Regions from separate parts of the Homo sapiens genome. Here regions 2 and 3 are each linked to region 1. Evidence: promoter capture Hi-C in 16 types of primary human blood cells and fetal thymus (Javierre and others, 2016). All regions are on one chromosome and are shown on one strand. The core of a region is centred on a gene start or on the middle of the fragment in contact, and the rest is flanking DNA. Distances in the headings are between cores, read along the strand shown. Region 1 holds the start of DDB1 (damage specific DNA binding protein 1). Region 2 overlaps PRPF19 (pre-mRNA processing factor 19). Region 3 overlaps TMEM109 (transmembrane protein 109).

Evidence for each region. Contacts are between HindIII fragments. The CHiCAGO score rates a contact against its expected background, and 5 or more counts as called.
Region 2: a fragment that was not itself captured here is called in contact with the fragment with the promoter of DDB1 in region 1 in 3 of 17 cell types (total CD4 T cells, activated CD4 T cells and non-activated CD4 T cells); the score reaches 6.4 in total CD4 T cells.
Region 3: a fragment that was not itself captured here is called in contact with the fragment with the promoter of DDB1 in region 1 in 3 of 17 cell types (total CD8 T cells, naive CD4 T cells and non-activated CD4 T cells); the score reaches 7.2 in total CD8 T cells.

What each region holds. Positions count from the first base shown.
Region 1 is chr11:61,331,821-61,334,407 of GRCh38, reverse strand. It overlaps DDB1 (damage specific DNA binding protein 1), which reads left to right and starts at 1,303. Exons shown (of 27, transcript NM_001923.5): 1 at 1,303-1,500. The coding sequence starts at 1,440. TKFC (triokinase and FMN cyclase) reads right to left here and starts at 1,180. Exons shown (of 18, transcript NM_015533.4): 1 at 1,079-1,180. RefSeq lists enhancers at 696-1,218, 1,219-1,741 and a silencer at 1,041-1,300. The HindIII fragment of the contact is 9,653 bases long and covers 1-2,145 here.
Region 2 is chr11:60,895,854-60,898,440 of GRCh38, reverse strand. PRPF19 (pre-mRNA processing factor 19) reads left to right here. Exons shown (of 16, transcript NM_014502.5): 14 at 170-340; 15 at 490-595. Among named protein-coding and RNA genes, the nearest start is that of PRPF19, 9.4 kb to the left of the region's middle. The HindIII fragment of the contact is 613 bases long and covers 978-1,590 here.
Region 3 is chr11:60,919,201-60,921,787 of GRCh38, reverse strand. It overlaps TMEM109 (transmembrane protein 109), which reads right to left. Exons shown (of 4, transcript NM_024092.3): 2 at 1,858-2,102; 3 at 800-902; 4 at 1-14. The coding sequence starts at 2,094. The region is part of intron 1 of LOC124902676 (a long non-coding RNA gene); the gene reads left to right. Among named protein-coding and RNA genes, the nearest start is that of TMEM132A, 4.0 kb to the left of the region's middle. RefSeq lists an enhancer at 1,752-2,587. The HindIII fragment of the contact is 2,902 bases long and covers 1-2,587 here.

The sequences.
Region 1 (2,587 bases), core at 54-2,553:
ACAGGTCTGCCTTTATGTCCAGGAACAGCACCCACTTCATCACTAAAGGACAGTGATCCTCAGAATAACTATCTTTTACACGGGCATCACATGCAGCGAAAAAGTTAACAAAGCTCGTCACACGCTTGCCCTCACTGGCCTTGGCACCAAAAGGGAAGGGAATGGGGGGAGCTAGCCAGGTTTGTGACCCATTTTACTTCTGGGAAACAGACTCAGAGAGCTCTAGGGACTTGTCCAAGGTAATACAGGTAACAGCCAGAATCTAAACCAATGTCTAGTTTTTCTACAGAGTGTGTTTTTACTACTGATAATTCAGTGCCTCCAAAGTCAGGCAGAGTCTCTGCTATGGGAAAGGCAAGATGTAAACCACGATGACTTTCTAGCTTTTCCTCAGTTCAGCCTGGTTCAGCAGCGTGTTGGCCTCTGTGTGGGTGCACAATAGGAAGAATCAACATAGCTCTGCCTCAGCCTACTTGGGGTTGTGGGGAGGGTCTTAGGTAAACCAATTCCTCCCTAAGCCTCAGCTTCCTCATCTGTAAAATGGGGGTTGGCTCCTCTCTGGCATTCTGCGAGTGTGCCAAGCCACGTGGTATTCCTCTTGTTCCCGGGGAGCCTGTTTGATGTGGGGTACCCTGGAGGCTGCAGGGCTGACGGCTCTCCTGGCTCATTAAGGTTCCCTACGGAGAAATACTGGTTTTGTGTTTGAGGTTCGAATTTGTAGAGCAATAGGGGCACTAATAACGTTGGGCAAGCAGACCGGTGGGCCCTTTGAAGTCTGAAGAATCAACGCGCAAAAGGGAGGAGGTGAGCAGGTGGTCGTTCAAACGTCAGGCGAGGGCACCAGCTGGATCTGGAGGAACTGAGACAGTGAAAGGAAAGCAGGCAAGGTTCTAGTCTGGGATATGCACGAATCGCGGTCTCCCTTCCCTCTCTATGCCTCCGCAGTCCTTCCCGTTCCCAAAGGAGGAACAGCCCGAGGGCTCCTGGAGCAACGGAAGGAGGACTGGATGCGGGGAAGGGCAAAGGGCGCGGAACGGGGTGGGGAGTCTGCGGGCGAGCTCGGAGGACACTGGCGCACCTCCCCCGCCGGCTCACGGCCGCATCCGCCACATCCGAAGGCGCCGCGACTTCCCGGAGACCCCGAAGCGTGCGCTCTCATCCGGGTCCTGCGGGCGCTGGCGGAAAGAGGCGAGGCGGTGCCTCCGGGGGCGGGGCCTCCTTCGGTTGGCGGCCTCGGGCTTCGGGAGTCCTCCAAGAGGCCAGGTGAGGCCGTCCCGTGATGCCCCGCGCCCCGGCCGCTCTGGCCTGCAACGTGTCTCTGGGGCGGAGGCAGCGGCAGTGGAGTTCGCTGCGCGCTGTTGGGGGCCACCTGTCTTTTCGCTTGTGTCCCTCTTTCTAGTGTCGCGCTCGAGTCCCGACGGGCCGCTCCAAGCCTCGACATGTCGTACAACTACGTGGTAACGGCCCAGAAGCCCACCGCCGTGAACGGCTGCGTGACCGGTGAGGCTGCCGGGGCCGGAGACCCCGGCGAGTGAGGGAGTTGGGGGGAGCCGCGGCCTAGGGAGGCCCGCCGCCCCGGGGGCGGCCGGGCAGGAGTGGGCCCGGCGAATGGAAGGCGCTGGCGGCCGAGGAACCTCCCCCAGCACCGCGACCTCGAAAGAGTCGTCCCTGTACGCGCTTTTTGGGGGTTGGAAGCCGCTCTCGAGGGTCCCCTTTCGTCCTGGGGAGGTCATTCGGCCTCGAGAACAGGGCGGGCCCAGTGAGACAGAGGAGTGTGAGTTGGTTGTGCGGTGTCGTTTGGGCCCGGAGATTGGCTTTCTGTGGCCAGGAAAAGGGGAGGTGGTAATGACGACTTTGGGGTCAAGATTTTCCTGTGGGGAAGTCTGGGGGGCCCAGGAGGTGGAGGGATGTGAGGAATGCCCGCATTATCCCACAGAGGGAGAGGAGCCCTCTTCAGGCTAACCCCTTTGCCTGGGGCTGTTGTTTACATGAGGGCCCTGCTGGAGAAGAGGGTTTGGTTTGCCTGGCCCAGTGCTGGGTTTGCCTTGTTGACGATGCGCTTGGATTGTTAAGGACACCGATGTTCAGAACCCGGGAAGAGTCATCTTAACCCACATTCTCAGCTGAATATGCAGACCCCAAGCTTGCATGTTTATATACACCCTAATCATGATTCCAAAACAAAACTGTTGTTCAGAGTTGGAGGTAGCTGAGTGTGGATGGAGGTATTGGTAGACTGCCAGGAGGGCAGGGGGTGTGGACAAAACAGTGTTTTCATATAAAGCTCTGGGACTTCTTCATTTGACTTGGTCTGTCAGATAAAAGTTTTGTGAGACTTTAGATGAAGACTGGAAGAAGTGAACACTTTCTCCGGCATTCTCAATTAGAGCCTGCCACTGTAACTGTAATAGAGTAAAATTGGAGGGGCAAGAGGCATGAGAAGGGATTACGCAGTCATTGTCATTTGGAGGACACACGGCTCTTAGGTCCAGTCCAGTTTTCTTAGTCTGATTAGGGAAGTAGCTTTGTTGAATGCATGAACTGAGACTCTTTGAGGTGCCGGATTTGGCAAGAAGGGGAGTAGCTG
Region 2 (2,587 bases), core at 35-2,534, 440 kb after region 1:
GAGAGACACTGGCTGTGCGTGTGTGATATGATGGTGTGGTCTGGGGGGTCCCGCTGGCTGTCCTTCCTGGAAGGACGTGAGGGACATCTCAGGTAGGAGTTTGGTGAGCCCCATTTTCTTCCTCTCATGATCTGTGGGTGACGTATTTTACTACCCACCGCCACTGTAGGAACGTACTAATGTGGCCAACTTCCCTGGCCACTCGGGCCCCATCACTAGCATCGCCTTCTCTGAGAATGGTTACTACCTGGCTACAGCGGCTGATGACTCCTCTGTCAAGCTCTGGGATCTGCGCAAGCTTAAGAACTTTAAGACTTTGCAGCTGGATAACAACTTTGAGGTGTGCCCTTCCCCCTCCGCCCAGCTTTCCATTGTGTCTCCTTGTTTGTCAATTATTTATTGAATTAATCTAATTGCTTCTGCTTATCCGCAACTGCCCCATAGTTTCTGTTCCCCTTGTGTGACCTTCTCTCTTTCTATTTCTGGCAGGTAAAGTCACTGATCTTTGACCAGAGTGGTACCTACCTGGCTCTTGGGGGCACGGATGTCCAGATCTACATCTGCAAACAATGGACGGAGATTCTTCACTTTACAGGTAGAGGCTGGTCCTGGGCTCCTGGGATCTCTCTAGGTGCCCAGGCCCGGAGGGAAGCCTCACTGGGTTAGGAATTTCTAGGGCTTGCATGAATTTACCTAAGCAGCTTTCTGTTACCACCTGAGGCAGAGCTTTATGACTAAGGAAGCAACTGAGTCAGACTGCATGGCAGTAGATGCTAGTGCTTGTTCTGCCACTTCCATGCCCTGTGGCATTGGGCAGGTTACTAAAGGGAGAGAAAAGTCCCTCTGAAGTTTTGATAACTGAATCTAAAATAAATGAACATTAGACAGTGACAGGAGGAGAGCCATTTTAATTACGTGCATATGCACGGGAGGCCCACATTATATTAGATCTGCAGAAGGGTCAGATGATTGAAGCTTATACAGTTTATATATCACTTAATAATGGGGATATGTTCTGAGAAATGTCTTGTTAGGTGATATCGTCATGTGCGACCATTGTAGAGTGAACTTACATATATCTAAATGGTGTAGCCTACTACACGCCAAGACTATTGCTATAACCTTAGTATAGTCTATTATTGCTCCTAGGCTACAAACCGGTACAGCATATTAAATGTAGTGAATACAATTATAACACAATGGTAAGTATTTGTGTATCTAAACAAGTGTAAACATAGAAAAGGTTCAGTAAAAATAAGGTATAAGAGATTTTTTTAAAATGGTACACTGGTATAGTGCTTGCCATGAAAGGAGCTTGCAGGACTGGAAGTTGCTTTCAGTGAGTGAGTTGTGAGTGAATGTGAAGGCCTAGGACATTACTGTACGCTGCTGTAGACTTTATAAACACAGTACACTTAGGTTTTACTAAATTCATAAAAAACTTTTTCTTCAGTAATAAGCCTTAGCTGACTTTTACTTTATAAACTTAAAAAAATGGATTCTTTTGTAATAACATTTAACTTAAAACTAAAACACATTGTACAGCTGTACAAAAATATTGTCTCTCTTTACATCCTTGTTCTATAAGCTTTTTTCTAATTTTTTTATTTTTATTTTTTACTTTTTAAACTTTTCTTGTTAAAAACTAAGACACAAGCACACATTACCCTAGGCCTACACAGGATCAGGATCACCAACTGTATTAGTCCGTTCTCACACTGCTATGAAGAACTGCCTGGGTAATTGATAAGGGAAAGAGGTTTAATTGACTCACAGTGACTCGGGAGGCCTCAGGAAACTTACAGTCATAGCAGCAGGGAAAGCAAACATGTCTTTCTTTACATGGCAACAGGAGAGACAAATGCTGAGCAAAGGGGCTAAAGCCCCTCATAAAACCATCAGATCTCGTGAGAACTCACTATCATGAGAACAGCATGGGGGTAACCACCCCCATGATTCAGTTACTTCCCACTGGCTCCCTCCCACAACACGTGGGGATTATGGGCACTACAATTCAAGATGAGATTTGGGTGGCGGCACAAAGCCTAACCATAGCACCAACATCACTGTCTTCTACCTCCACATCTTTTCCCACCGGAAGGTCTTCGGGGGCACCAACATGCATAAACCTGTCATCTCCTATGATGATAATGCCTTCTTCTCGGATACCTCCTGAAAGGGCCTGCTTGGTGCTGTTTTACAGTTAACTTTTTTTTATAAGTGGGAAGAGTATATTTAATACCAAAAAAAGTATAGTATAGGCATACCTTGTCTTATTGCACTTAGCTTTATTGTATTTTATGGATACTTTGCTTTTTATAAATTGAAGGTTTTTGGCAACCTTGCCCCAAGCAAGTCTGTCAGTACCATTTTTCCAACAACATGTGTTCACTTTGTGTCTGTGTGTCAAATTTTGGTAATTCTTACAGTATTTCAAACTTCTTCATGATTTATTGTGTCCGTTAGTGATCTTTGATGTTGCTATTGTAATTGTTGGGCGGGGGGGCACCATGAAATGTGCCCATAAAAGTTACTGAATTTATTTGATAAATGAAATGCTGTGTGTGTTCTGACCACTCCACCCACC
Region 3 (2,587 bases), core at 66-2,565, 410 kb after region 1:
GGCGAGGTAATCACCTGGAAGCCAAGAGAGTCACAGAGTCAGCCAACCTGGAGAAGTGGTGAGGGGAGAGCGGGGCAAGAGCTAAAAGGGTGGGAGGTGCTAGGCACATTGCAAAGGAATAAGCCGTTCTCGCAGACTCAGAGTGATATGGGTTGGAATCTCAGCTCTGTTTCTTGCTGGCTGTGAGGCCTGGAGTAGATTACTTGCTTCTGTTGAGCTGCAGTTTCATTTACTAAACGGGAACAATTCTACTGCCTCCCTGTACTGTGGCTGGCAATTAAATGAGATACTACAGCTCAGCACGATGCCTGATAGGAAGTGAACAACTGGCACGTGGTGGCGGAAGTTCTTTTTTAGGGGGTCTGGGTGGGACAGGGTTTTGCTCCATCGCCGAGGCTGGAGTGCAGTGACGTGATCCCGGCTCACTGCAACCTCTACCTCCTGGGCTCAAGCGATCCTCCCACCTCAGCTCCCAAGTAGCTGGGACAACAGACACACGCCACCATGCTTGGCTAATTTTTTATAGAGACGAGGTCTCATTATATTGCCCAGGCTGGTCTCAAACTTCTGGCCTCAAGTGACCCTCCTGCCTTGACCTCCCAAAGTGCTGGGATTACAGGCGGGAGCCACCACACCTGGCCATGGTAGTTCTTGGCTTGCTCTTTGGCCATGTCTCTGCAGAATCCTGGGAAGGGTTAAGCAGCTTGGGGAAAAGGCTAGACCCTGACAAAGATGAACTCCCACAAGTAGGAAAGTACAGGCAAAGCTCTGGCTGACTACCCAGCACTCGAACACTCACCAGCTAGTCCCAAGGCATTCAGCAGCTGTGCGGCGATCCCAGACAGAGCAAAGAAGGCCACAGAAATGGCTGATGAGATGGCCCACAACACTTGGGACGAAGACTGTGGAAAGAGCACGGAGCGAGATGAGTTCATAATGAACAACGGTCCTCGCCTTCACGCCTGATCACCACTGTCCAGGCAAGAACTGCAGGAATGTCTCAGACCTGTTTCTCACCCAGTGGTGACAGGCCTGGGTCAGAGGGTAGGGGCCTTGGGCCTGGCTGAGGGGTCCCTTCCACATCCACCTTCTAGTCTACAGGGATGGCCAACAGGCTGTCTCTCCTTCCTGAACTGGAAACTAGGGCATCTGGGACATAATTTAACTGCTTTGCTGGGATACTTTGGAGGGAGTAGTAGGTGTACTTGTGTGTGAATGACGGAGACAATCAAATACTTTTAGTAGTCACCCTATAAAACTGGAGGCCTGCTAGCTGTCCAGGGAGTCATGAAGGTGCGTGGAGAACATCTGTAAAGGGATAGGATGTTCCAGTGAAAAAGGAGTCTATCAGCTATACTATATTATGGATTTAATAAATGATTGTCTCAGCCCTTCAGTCCAGCCTATCAAAAGTATGTGATACCATGCTTGGGATGCCACCAGGTAAAAAAAGATAACCCTGCCTTAGGCTCCCAATAAGCTCAACCCACTTCTGCAGGTGAAGGAATGGATTCAGGACTTGATATTTTGCCATTTCGAGATTCTAGGTCAGATTTAGACCAAAGTGAGACTCTACAGTCACCCAGTAACATGGGCTTATAAAGATGGCTCATTTCCCAGCCTTTCTGGCAAGGAAAGGGCAGGAGCCAGGAAAGGATAGGGGTGGAGCTAAAAGGCCCTAGGACAGCAATCAAATAACGAGGAATTCAAAGACAAGTGCTGTGTGGCTTCTTTTTGTGGAATTTGGGGCTCTCTGCACCAGAGAGGATGTGGAACTAAGATGAGGTGGCCATTACCAACCTTTCTTCTTTTATTTTTCCTTAATGTGTGTAGTCACACAGGGACTACCTTCCTTACCTCTGACACCAGGTGCATGGTCTCTGGCCCAATCCAGGCATCCAGTGTCCCTCGCACAGATCGACCTATCTGGGTCAAGACATCAACTGGGGCTTCTCTCTTCTGTTGGCCTGGTGGTGCAAAGTCTCGACGGGACTGGGCCAATGCTGAGTGGAGGAGGATAAGGGCCACTAGGACCATCAGAATGGCTTTGAACACATGCTTTCCCCATGGTGAACTGATGCTGGAGGCTGCCATGACTGGGTCTGCCAGGAGAGAAGCACAGTGAGCTGAGTGCCATGGTAGACACACTCACCCTCTCAGCTCTGATTATCCCAACATCCTTCTCCACCCCTACCCCAAGCAAGCACCAAACTAACCCTGGAAAGAAAGTGCTGTTAGCTGGGAGAGGAAGGACTGGGACTTCCAACTGAAGCTGGGCACAACCATCTGACTCACAGGTTCCTCTTTCACATTCTTTACCACTTGCATATTAATTAACCAGCAAGTATTATTCAACACTTTAGAGTTGGCGAGAAGATCTCTCTAAGGTTTGTGCCAGTTCTAAAAATCTGAAGGCCTGTCCCTGTATCTTAGGTGCTATAGGCATAAAAGTATTATAAGACTCTATAAAGGCTCTGTCCCAAGGAGCTTATAATCTACTTAAGATACAGCTGGTATAAAAAACAACTTAAAAATAGCACACAAGTAGGATTACTGCCATATAATGGTATAAAGAAAAGTGCTCAGT